Regions from separate parts of the Homo sapiens genome. Here region 2 is linked to region 1. The links are contacts of gene promoters, found by promoter capture Hi-C in blood cells and fetal thymus (Javierre and others, 2016). All regions are on one chromosome and are shown on one strand. Each heading gives the region's core, a stretch centred on a gene start or on the middle of the fragment in contact. The rest is flanking DNA. Distances are from core to core; before and after follow the strand shown.

Region 1 (5,746 bases), core at 2,838-5,337:
GGCATGAGCCACCGCTCCTGGTGAATCTGTGATTTTAATACCCCCTCAACACTCCATGATATTTATTCAATTTTTTAATTGTAAAATACACACAAAATTTACCATCTTAACCATTTTAAATGTACAGTTCCGTGTTAAGTACATTCATAATGCTATGCAACATCACCACCATCCATCTCCAGAACGTTTTGTCTTCTAACAGTGAAACTCTACACCCATTAAACAATAGTTCCCCGTTACTTCCCTCCATTCCATGATTCAGGGTCTCACTCCCATTGCCCAGGCTGGAGTGCAGTGGTCCGGTCATGGCTCACAGCAGCCTGGACCTCCTTGGCTTAATCCATCCTCCCACCTTAACTTCCTAAGTAGCTGGGACTACAGGCGCATGCCACCATGTCCAGCTAATTTTTGTATTTTTTGTATTTGTATTCACCATGTTGCCCAGGCTTGTCTTGAACTGCTAGTTTCAAGCAATTATGCCACCTTGGCCTCCTGAAGTGTTGGGATTACAGGCGTTTTCCACTGCACCCAGCCTGATTCTTTGTTTTTTTGAGACGGAGTTTCGCAGTTGTTGCCCAGGCTGGAGTGCAATGGCGTGATCTCAGCTCACTGCAACCTCCGCCTCCCAGGTTTAAGCGATTCTCTTGCCTCAGCCTCCCAAGTAGCTGGGATTACAGGTGCTTGCCACCATGCCTGGCTAATTTTTGTATTTTTAGTAGAAACGGGGTTTCACCATGTTGGCCAGGTTGATCTCAAACTCCTGACCTCAGGTGATCCACCGACCTTGGTCTCCCAAAGTGCTGGGATTACAGGCTTGAGCCACCGTACCCAACCTCATCCTGATTCTTTTTTTTTTTTTTTTTTTTGAGACGAAGTTTTGCTCTTGTCACCCAGGCTGGAGTGCAATGGCACGATCTCAGCTTACTGTAACCTCTACCTCCCGGGTTCAAACGATTCTCCTGCCTCAGCCTCCCGAGTGGCTTGGATTACAGGCGCTCGCCACCATGCCTGGCTAATTTTTGTATTTTTAGTAGAGACGGGGTTTCTCCATGTTGGCCAGGCTGGTCTTGAACTCCTGACCTCAGGTGATCTGCCTGCCTCAGCCTCCCAAAGTGCTGGGATTACAGGCATGAGCCACCACACCTGGCTGCCTGATTCTTATTTACAAGGAAGTTTAGGAAACACTGACTTAATAGGGGTCAGGGCCAGGTGGATATATTAAGAGTTTTCTGAGGGAAGAGTGAAGAAGTAGGGATCGATCCCAAGCAGAGTGGGTGTGGTGTGGGGCACAGTGGAACCCAGGTCCTGGGGAAGGCAGGATTTTGAGAAGGGCAATGGAGAGCAAGTTACTAGGGTCAGAATATTGTTTTCAGAGAAGAAAGGCAATCTGCAAGGAGCCTAACTGACCCTGTGTTCTTCCAGGTGGCTGCATTGATGACACCATCCTCAGCAGGCAGGGCTTTATCAACTACTCCAAGCTCCCCAGCCTGCCCCTGGTGCAGGGGGAGCTTGTAGGAGGCCTCACCTGCCTCACAGCCCAGACCCACTCCCTGCTCCAGCACCAGCCCCTCCAGCTGACCACCCTGTTGGACCAGTACATCAGAGAGCAACGCGAGAAGGATTCTGTCATGTCGGCCAATGGGAAGCCAGATCCTGACACTGTTCCGGACTCGTAGCCAGCCTGTTTAGCCAGCCCTGCGCATAAATACACTCTGCGTTATTGGCTGTGCTCTCCTCAATGGGACATGTGGAAGAACTTGGGGTCGGGGAGTGTGTTTGTCACTTGGTTTTCACTAGTAATGATATTGTCAGGTATAGGGCCACTTGGAGATGCAGAGGATTCCATTTCAGATGTCAGTCACCGGCTTCGTCCTTAGTTTTCCCAACTTGGGACGTGATAGGAGCAAAGTCTCTCCATTCTCCAGGTCCAAGGCAGAGATCCTGAAAAGATAGGGCTATTGTCCCCTGCCTCCTTGGTCACTGCCTCTTGCTGCACGGGCTCCTGAGCCCACCCCCTTGGGGCACAACCTGCCACTGCCACAGTAGCTCAACCAAGCAGTTGTGCTGAGAATGGCACCTGGTGAGAGCCTGCTGTGTGCCAGGCTTTGTGCTGAGTGCTGTACATGTATTAGTTCCTTTACTGCTGACCACATTGTACCCATTTCACAGAGAAGGAGCAGAGAAATTAAGTGGCTTGCTCAAGGTCATGCAGTTAGTAAGTGGCAGAACAGGGACTTGAACCAAGCCCTCTGCTCTGAAGACCGCGTCCTGAATTTCTTCACTAGAGCTTCCTCATCAGGTTACCCAGAAGTGGGTCCCATCCACCATCCAGGTGTGCTTGGATGTTAGTTCTCCACCCTCGAGGTGTACGCTGTGAAAAGTTTGGGAGCACTGCTTTATAATAAAATGAAATATATTCTACTTCCTTTATTTTGTGGTTTACACGGTTGTCCTCCCTCTAAACTTACTCTCAGGGGCTTCTCTGTCATCTGACTTTCCTCACTCTTGCTTCCCTTCCTAGGAAAATCCTCTTCCCCTATACCTGTTCCCACAAATGGCATCCCGCGCATGCTTGCCCTATTAAAGGCAGCTGACAGCTGTACCCACTAGCTAACGTGTCTCTGGTGGTTCTGGACAAAAGGCCTGCGGGAAAACTAGGATTCTCTATTAATGGGGAATTCTGAGAGCTCTAGGGTAGGAGGCCTCATGCAAGTCTTCATGAACCAGAAATTCCTAATAAAGGAGACGGGATGCTTAACTCAGAGTCCACCATCATCCTTGACTGGAGCACATTCTGGGTGGATGCAGGGGTGACCCGGGGAAGGTGGCTGTTCAACATTCCTTCTCGGACTTGAAGCAATGCCACCGCTTCCTTAGTCTTGGACAGGCACTGTCTGGCAGGGATGACCTGCAGCAGCTCTTTTGTGGCCTGGGCCAGGACCAGCTTCCCCCAGTGCCTCATCCTGTGCTGTATGCCCAGGGATGTTCAATCACTGGGAAGTGGCTTAAAAGGCCCTTGAGGCTCCTGGATGCCAGAGCTTGTCTGGTCAGTGCTGCCCAGTGCTCCTGTCCCTCCCAGAACCCTGCCAGGTGCTAACAACACCCTCCTCCTGGGGTGGCTGGAGCAGCACTGAGGCTCTGAATAAAGGCAAGACAGTGGGTGTTCCCGAGAGATATGTGAGACCCTGAAACGTAAACCAAGCTCGGTGAGGATGAAGTGGAAGGGATAAGTGGCCCATGTCACTTTTGGGGTCAGAGAAGAAACTTGAATCACATCCTTCACCTGAGGCCCCACCTACTTCTTTCCAGAAAACTTAGCTGCGCTTGAAACTGTAGGTCTATGCCACATTCATTTGAATGAATTTTAGATCTTTGTTAAGAGCCGATTTTTCATTAGAATTGAGCAGCTGGGCACAGTACTCCAGCAGAAGGGTAAAGGGAAGGGAGGGGACCAGCATTGCAGCCCTTTTAACGGCAGCTGTGACTGCCCCAGGCCTGCTCCTGATCAGAGACTGCAGGCTGTGGGGTGTCTTCATACACACAAGCACTTTCAGATCTCCATGGGGCCTGACCTAGTGGGGCATCACCCCAGTGAAGGGCCTCAGTGTGGGGACTGCTGGCTGTCCCTTTCCTGGCTTGACTGCCCCTGCTGACTGTGCTCTTGGCACTCTCTTATGGTCCCAGAGGGGGCATCTGTCCCTCCACCATCAACCTGATACTTTTGCTGGCTCCAAATTTTGCAGTCTATTTTCAGATGTAAAATGAGAGGCGGGGGGCGGGGGTTAATTAGGAATTGGCCTTGGGTACTAACAGGGTCACTGCCATGCTAGTCTGAATAAATCCTTTATCACCACTGGCGTACAGCCAACAGTTCCCCAGTCCTCTGATCTATCTGGAACCATGCCCAGCAGGGACTGTGCCCCCACTCCCAAGCCACATCGATGCTAGGGCAGTCTGCTCAGCCCTGAGTCCTCCGGGGAGCAGGGGGGCAGAGCTGAGCGGCTGCCCGGAGCTTGGCGGGAGGAGGGGACAGGGGAGAGGGAGGTGGGGAGATCCGGCTAGAGGGGAGGCTCTGACATCTCCTTCCTTCCTGGTTCCTGCAGCAGCTGCTGCCACTGCTCAGCGCGGTGAGGAGGGAGCCGGTGACTCGGAGACGGTGACTCAGAGGCAGAGCGGCGCAAGGGCCAAGGAGTACTGGCGTCCATGGACCCTGGGGTAAGGGGGCTGCGTGGCAGCAGCTGACATTCCTGAGAAGAGCTTCCTCCCACCTGAAGCTGGTGGGTCTGCTCCTGAATAGAGGTGGAGAGGGGGCACCCACCTGGCTCACCTAGACCCTTCACCTGCCTACCGATAGAGCCTCCCCCTCTACCCACAAGCAGTGAGGGGCCAGGATCCCCACAGGGCCGGGAGAAGGGCCCAGAGATACCTGAACACCGGAAGAGTTTGAGAACTTTCAATGGCTGAATGCAGGAGTTTCCTCCCAGGTCAGCCTCTTGCAGCAAGGGTCCCTCTGCCCCAACCTCCTGGGCACCCGTTCCTGCCACATCCCTGTCCCCTCTGGGCCTCAGTTCCTCAGGTGCTTGCTAGCTCCATTAGAAGATCTGGGCTGCTTCCCCCACCTCAAACCAGCCTCGCCCCTCCAGTCCCCTCCCCCGTCTCACACATGCAGAGCCTCATGCATTATTGATCTCCCGGTGGAGCCAGGATGGCCAGGGCCAGTGCCAAGGGTGCCTGTGGGCACTGCTGCAGGACCTGTGCAGACCTGGGCATGTCCTGGGCCCCCTCTTCTCTCATGAAGTATCTCCTTTAGCCCAATGTCCTGCCCTCTCTGGGTGGGTGGCACTTCTCAGAGCCCCAAGGACTGTGAGGGTAGACAGGGGATGGTGAGGCTTTAGGGGGTACTGAGGGTCCAAAAAGGGCATCCTAGGGGCATGTTTGGTGGGAGGAGACATGGGAAAATGGGGGCTATCTCAGGCCTCAGTTTCTCCAAGCACTAGATAATATGGAGATTAATTGGTGGGAGGCTGGGGAGTTTTCTGCAAGATCATGGCAGAGAAGTCTCTGAGCTACGGTGGCAGGGTGGAGGGGTCCTGAAGGCAGAGGCAGCTGGATTGAGGAGGTCTCGCTTGTCCAGTCTCTGAACCCCTCTGTCTCTTCTTGGAGCCTCTTCTGTCACTCCCTTGCTTCACCTCTGAGCACTCCCAGGGAAGCCTCTAAAGAAAGCACTGAATGTTTCTTGGAGCCCCAGAGTATGTGCCCAAGGCGGGGCTGGGCATATGTCTTGTGGTTTTCCCTGGGCACCTGCCCGTCTGCTGTGTGCTAGTTCACTCTCAGGGCAGTGTCCATATCAGGTGAAAATGGGTGGGGTCGGGACAGAGGGGCAGACTTGGGAGAGGCTTGGCAGGTGAGCAGAGGGTATGTTGGGGAGCCCTTATCTCAGAGGGTGTGGGAGGGGCTGGAGGTGGGGAAGGTGATAGCAGAGTTTGCGTTAAGGGGGTCTTTCTCTTGCTTCAAGGACCCCGTCAGGAGCAGGTGACATCCTTCCCCTTCCACCCTGCTCCCTGCTCTACATCCCCAGCAGGGAGTGGCCTCTCCCTTCTCCATGGACTTCCAAGAGAGGGACCCGCCCTTCCTGCCTGAGAGCGCTCAGTCCTCAAAGCCCAGCAGTGCTCAGCAGGTCAGAGAGTGGGAAAGCGGTGGTGGGTGGGCCAAGCTGGAACCAGACAGGGAGGGGCCAAGGCGGACG
Region 2 (6,188 bases), core at 1,323-3,822, 160 kb after region 1:
AGGCCCCAAATAAGTACTGATTCAAGTGAGTCCCTGCCCCAACCCGGCTTTAACCACAGACATGCAAATTTCAGAAATGTAACTATAAAAAGGAAGCTAGGCTTGAAAGAAAAGATAGGAAAAGAAAGATTTTCTTTTCTTTTTTTTTTTTTTGGTGATGGGGTCTCACTCTGTCACACAGGCTGGAGTACAGCAGCACAATCTCAGCTTACTGCAACCTCCACCTCCCAGGCTCAAACAAACCTCCCACCCCAGCCTCCTCCATAGGTGGGACCACAAGTGCATGCCACCTCACCCAGCTTATTTTTGTATTTTTTGTAGAGGCGGGGTTTCACCATATTGCCTAGGCTGGTCTCAAACTCCTGGACTCAAGCGATCTGTCAGTCTCAGCCTCCCAAACTGCTGGGATTACAGGCGTGAGCCACCATGCCCAGCCTCAGATTTTCAAAATGCAGGTTGTTTCTTTTTTCTTTTTGAGACAGAGTCTCGCTTTCTGGCCCAGGTTGGAGTGCAATGGCGTGATCTTGGCTCACTGCACCCTCCGTCTCCTGGGTTCAAGCGATTCTCCAGCCTCAGCCTCCAGAGTAGCTGGGATTACAGGCACGTGCCACCACGTTCAGCTAATTTTTGTGTTTTCAGTATAGACGGGGTTTCACCATATTGGCCAGGCTGGTCTCGAACTCCTGACCTCAGGTGATCTGCCCACCTCAGCCTTCCAAAGTGCTGGGATTACAGGCGTTAGCCACCGGGCCTGACCTCAAAATGAAGGTCTTTTACCCACACAAAGTTAGCACCAGTTTTCTTGGCACACCACTGATGAGCTTAAACCGAACAGTCTCGAGGAATTTCCTTGATTCCATAGTATTAAGTAAAATATTACAGAATTGGCAAAATAGCGACTAAGGATGATGGGCTCTGTAATTAGCCACAAGCTCAAATCACATAAATAGAAATACTTACTGCAAAAAGAGCAGGACCCATATATGTCTCCATGTACTGATAATATAAGGACATTATCTTCACCAGATTCTGTAAAGCAGCCACTCGTACCTTTTATGAACAGCAGATCAGATAGTTTACTAAAATAACAACGCAATCTGACAAAGTTAGATTCACTCAAATGGGCCAATAATCCTAAGGATTAATTGAGGTAAATATGGGATACGTTATCATTTCCCTAAAATTCATTCTCTCCCTTTAATTCCCTCATTATCTGTTCCTTTATTTTCCCATTTTGTCTCTCTTTTTCGGGGAAGGGACAGAGTTCCGCTCCTGTTGCCCAGGCTGGAGTGCAGTGGCATGATCTTGGCTCACTGCAACCTCTGCCTCCCCGATTCAAGCAATTCTCGTGCCTCAGCCTTCCAAGTAGCTGGGACTACAGGTGCCCGCCACCATGCCCGGCTAATTTTTTGTATTTTTAGTAGAGACGGGGTTTTGCTATGTTGACCAGGCTCATCTCGAACTCCTGAGCTCAGACAATCCACTCACCTCGGCCACCTAAAGTGCTAGGATTAAAGGTGTGAGCCACTGCGCCCGGCCATTTTTCTCTTTTTTTTTTTTTTGAGACAGTCTTCTTGCTCTGTCGCCCTGGTGCAAGTATAGTGGCCATGATCACGGCTCACTGCAGCCTCAACCACCAGGCTCAAGCAATCCTCCCACTTCAGCCTCCCACGTAGCTAGGACTACAGGCTCGCCCCATCACGCACAGCTAATCTTTGTGGACATGGAGTTTCGCCATGTTGCCCAGACTGGTCTCCAACTCCTGGGCTCAAGTGATCCTCTGGCCTCGGTCTCCCAAAGTGCTGGTATTATAGGTGTGAGCCACCACAGCCAGTCCTTTTTTTTTTTGAGATGGAGTCTCCCAGGCTGGAGTGCAGTGGTGTGATCTCAGCTCACTACAACCTCCGCCTCCCGGGTTCAAGCAATTCTCCTGCCTCAGCCTCCTGAGTAGCTGGATTACAGACATGCGCCTGTAAAGTGTTGGGATTACAGGCGTAAGCCACCGCGCCTGGCCTCAGTCTTTTTTTTTGCATTAAAGGTGCGTGTGGAACCCATGGTACGGCTAAATTCACTAATACTATTCAGACTGAAGATATTACTTCTATCTTCTTGAAGGGTCAGGTTTTGGGTATAGCAATAGCAAAGCTGCTTTAATGGCTACAGGGGAAAACAATCACTTGAATAACCTATGGCAATAAAGTAGCAAAGCTGATCAAAAACCTTTTCTCCCTTAACTGTTTGTGTATATATATTTTTTAGTAGAAATGGCTTGAATAACCTACGGCAATGAAGTAGCGAAGCTGATCGAAAACCTTTTCTCCCTTAACTGTTTATTTGTGTATACATATTTTTTAGTAGAGATGGTGTCACTATGTTGCCCAGTTTGGTCTCCAACTCCTGACCTCAGTGATCCTCCTGCTTTGGCCTCCCAAATTGCTGGGATTATAGTGTGAGCCACCACACTGGCACCTTAAACCTTTTTTAAGAGGATGGCAACTTCCATGACAATTCTTCCCTCTTCTCTAATGTTTTTATTAATTATCATTATTATTTTTTGAGATGGAGTCTGTTTGCAGTGGCATGATCTTGGCTCACTGCAACCTCCACCTCCCAGGTTCAAGCGATTCTTGTACCTCAGCCTCCCCAGCAGCTGGGACTACAGGCACGTGCCACCACACCCAGCTAATTTTTTTTTATTTTTAGTAGAGACAGGGTTTCACCATGTTGGCCAGACTGGTATGAAACTCCTAACCTCAGGTGAACTGCCTGCCATGGCCTCCCTAAGTGCTGGGATTACAGGTGTGAGCCACCATGCCCAGCCAGAATATTAATTATTAGTAACAATATTAATCAAACCTTATTGCTGAAGTCAACTGATTCCCAGTATTTCAAACTTATATTAGATTTGACATTTCCTAAGAAAGATGTAAGACAGATTTTTCATATAACCTCACACTTACCCTCGTATCTGGACACTGTGTGGCTTCACAGACCACCTGCATAATAAAGTGCCTTTCAGACTGTAGGAGGAATAAAAATAAAGAGAATTAGGAGAGCATAACCTGTACGTAGGAAGATTTCCAGACTCCCTCTACAAGGAAAACCTCTCACTCCCCCTCAGGGCCCCACACAGCCCTGCCTGGTACAATCAAGCCACTCTCCCTTGAGATGGTACAGCACTATAAAGGCTATAAAGAGTTTACCTTCGGTGTCTGCTATGTGACTTGCCCTCCAATGAGGTCCCTAATCTTTTAATCTCCAAAATGACCACTAACAAAGACTTCAGGGAGGAAACAGAAAAATGTAGGTCACAAGTTTTAAATAAAAATGGTTAAAAGATAAAAATTTACATGTAGGAAAATCAGTTTCCTTATATAAGAGAATTCAAAACATCTGCTTTATTTCAGAGACCAAATTTGTTTTCTGAGAGGTAGCAAATTCACATCAAATGTGGTGAGAAAAGGGAGAATGAACTTTATGTGCTACCCTCCTAAATCTTCCAAAATCTATTAAGGAAAAATCCAGTTTTCTAATCAATTAGAATTGCCATTTGCTCTGGGGTTTCAGACCTTTCCAAAGTCAAGAAATGGTAAAAACCCAGCTGAAGTGTCAACAAACATATATACAGAAATACTTTCAGACCATGACCCTGGCAATTTTACTTGTCGGTATTTACCCTAAAGAACTGAAAGCAGAGTCTCAAAGATACACATGCATGCCCATGTTCATAGCAGCATTACCCACAATAGCCAAAAGGTGGATGCAAACCAAATGGCCATGGATGGAAGACTAGATAAACAAAATGTGGCATATACATATAATGGAATATTAATCACCCTTAAAAAGCCAATTTTGACAAATGCTACCCCTTAGATGAATCTCGAGGACATCATACTAAGTAAAACAAACCAGTCGCAAAAAGACAAATATGATTCCACTTACGTAAGGTATTTCGTTAGAGTAGTAAAATACATAGAAACTGAAAGTAAAATGGTCGTTACCAGTGGCTGAGAAAGGGGGAAATGAGGAGTTGTTGTTCAGTATGTACAGTTTCAGTTTTGCAAGATGAAAAAGTTCTGGAGATTGTTTCCACAGCAATGTGAATCTACTTAACTAACTATACATTTAAAAATGATTTAAGATGGTAAATTTTATGTTATTCATTGCATTTTCAGCCAAAATGTTTACATATATATTATACATACACATACATATACATATATATATATTTTTTTTTTTTGGAGACAGAGTCTTGCACTGTTGCCCAGGCTGAAGTACAGTGGTGAAATCTTGAGCCTTGAACTCCCAGGCTCAAGTGATCCTCCCACCTCAGCTTCCCAAGTAGCTGGGATTACAGGCATGTGCCAAAGCACCTGGCTATATATCCTGTTTCTTAAAAACACCTTCCTAAGGTGGTATGAAACAGACCAATTGCTATAATTTTTATTTATTTCATTTTTCATTATTTTTTTTCCATTATAAGCCCTGTAAACACAAGAGCTCACAAAACTGGTTAACAACTCAGTTGTTCTTCTCCACAGAAATTTTTTTAGAGACAGGGTTTTGTTACGTTGCACAGGCTAGTCTCAAACTCCTGGCTTCAAGTGATCCTCTTGCCTTGGTGGCCCAAAGTGTTGGGATTACTGGATGTGAGCCCCAGCACCCGGCCTCCACAAAATCTTTAGTACAAGGCAAAAGATTCACACAATCTTAAAAGAAACCAAAGTAAACCAACATATATAGTACATACCATAATTTCTTTCTTTTATTTTTTTTATTTTTTATTTTTTTTGAGACAGTCTTGCTCTGTCGCCCAGGCTGGAATACAGTGCTGCAATCTCGGCTCACTGCAACCTCTGCCTCCCAGGTTCAAGTGATTCTCCTGCCTCAGCCTCCTGAGTAGCTGGGATTACAGGCGCACGCCACCACACCCGGCTAATTTTTTTGTATTTTTAGTAGAGATGGGGTTTCACCATGTTCGTCAGGCTGGTCTCAAACTCCTGACCTGATGATCCACCCGCCTCAGCCTCCCAAAGTGCTGGGATTACAGGCTTAAGCCACATCGCCCAGCCTATTCCTTTCTTTTTTTTAAGGGACGATATCTGACTTTGTTGCCCAGGCTGGCCTTGAATAACTGGACTCAAGCAATCCTCCCGCCTTAGCCTCTGAAGTAGCTGGAGTACCAGTATGCACCACCATGCCCTATAATTTAAAAAAACCCAACAACATTCCACACTTTGGACTGCAAAAGGAAAAACCTAAGCTTAGAAACACTTTATTTCCAAAAGCATGATGAGAAACGGCAAACACTCCATGGGGATATCTCACACAATACGAACTCGACTAAACTGGAAACAAATACTTTTAAGTAGGTGGTACTTTCTAAACCATAAACTTAAGAAAACAAAACAAAAAACTTTCATTCAACTCTTTCATCCCTTACTGTCTGAATCTATACCTTATTGTCAAAAAACTTACCTCTTTATCAAAGTTTGCTTTGGTGAACTCCAATGAGTTCAGGAGTGCATTCGTAGCAGCTAGCTTCACATTATTACTAGGCTCTTCTTTCCTCATCCCCTGGATTATGGCAGTCAGAATCTCATTGGATTTATCTTGTAGCTGCTCTGGGTCCTGTAACAAGCAGAGAAGTGCAATGAATATACAGTCAGCCCTCTGCAGCCATGGGTTCCACATCTGTGGATTCAAACAACTATGGATTGAAAATATTTAGAGGAAAAAAAATGGATGGTTGCATCTGTACTGCACCAAAAGGTGCATGTACACCTTTTTTTCTTGTCATCATTCCCTTAATACAGTATACCAACTATTAATATAGCATTTACATTGAATTAGGTATTGTAAGTATTCTAGAGATGATTTAAAGTATATGGGAGGATGTGCATAGGTTATATGCAAATACTACACCATTTTATGTAACAGACTTGAACATCTGAGGATTTTGGTACCTGAGGAGGGTGCTGGAATCAATCCCCTCCAAAAGACTGCCATAAGGAGCTTCACGACAGAAGCAGTCCTTCTTCTGTTCTTAAGAGACAGGGTCTGTATTGCCCAGACTAAAGTGCAGTGGCTATTCACAGGCACTACCACAATGCACTGAACCCTCAAATTCCTGGGTTCAAGTGATCCTCCCACCTCAGCTTCCCAAGCAGCTGGGACTACAGGTGTAA

Evidence for each region. Contacts are between HindIII fragments. The CHiCAGO score rates a contact against its expected background, and 5 or more counts as called.
Region 2: a contact is called between a fragment that was not itself captured here and the fragment with the promoter of OSBPL7 in region 1, in 5 of 17 cell types (M2 macrophages, total CD8 T cells, activated CD4 T cells and 2 more). The highest score is 9.6, in M2 macrophages.

Annotation. Positions count from the first base shown.
Region 1 is chr17:47,820,135-47,825,880 of GRCh38, reverse strand. OSBPL7 (oxysterol binding protein like 7) reads left to right here and starts at 4,087. Exons shown (of 23, transcript NM_145798.3): 1 at 4,087-4,215; 2 at 5,516-5,677. The coding sequence starts at 5,603. It overlaps MRPL10 (mitochondrial ribosomal protein L10), which reads left to right. Exons shown (of 5, transcript NM_145255.4): 5 at 1,423-2,609. The coding sequence ends at 1,676. RefSeq lists an enhancer at 3,629-3,798 and a silencer at 3,909-4,124. The HindIII fragment of the contact is 20,101 bases long and covers 1-5,746 here.
Region 2 is chr17:47,657,951-47,664,138 of GRCh38, reverse strand. KPNB1 (karyopherin subunit beta 1) reads right to left here. Exons shown (of 22, transcript NM_002265.6): 5 at 5,479-5,631; 6 at 2,961-3,020; 7 at 961-1,050. Among named protein-coding and RNA genes, the nearest start is that of KPNB1, 11 kb to the right of the region's middle. RefSeq lists enhancers at 231-300, 3,832-3,981. The HindIII fragment of the contact is 5,386 bases long and covers 1-5,265 here.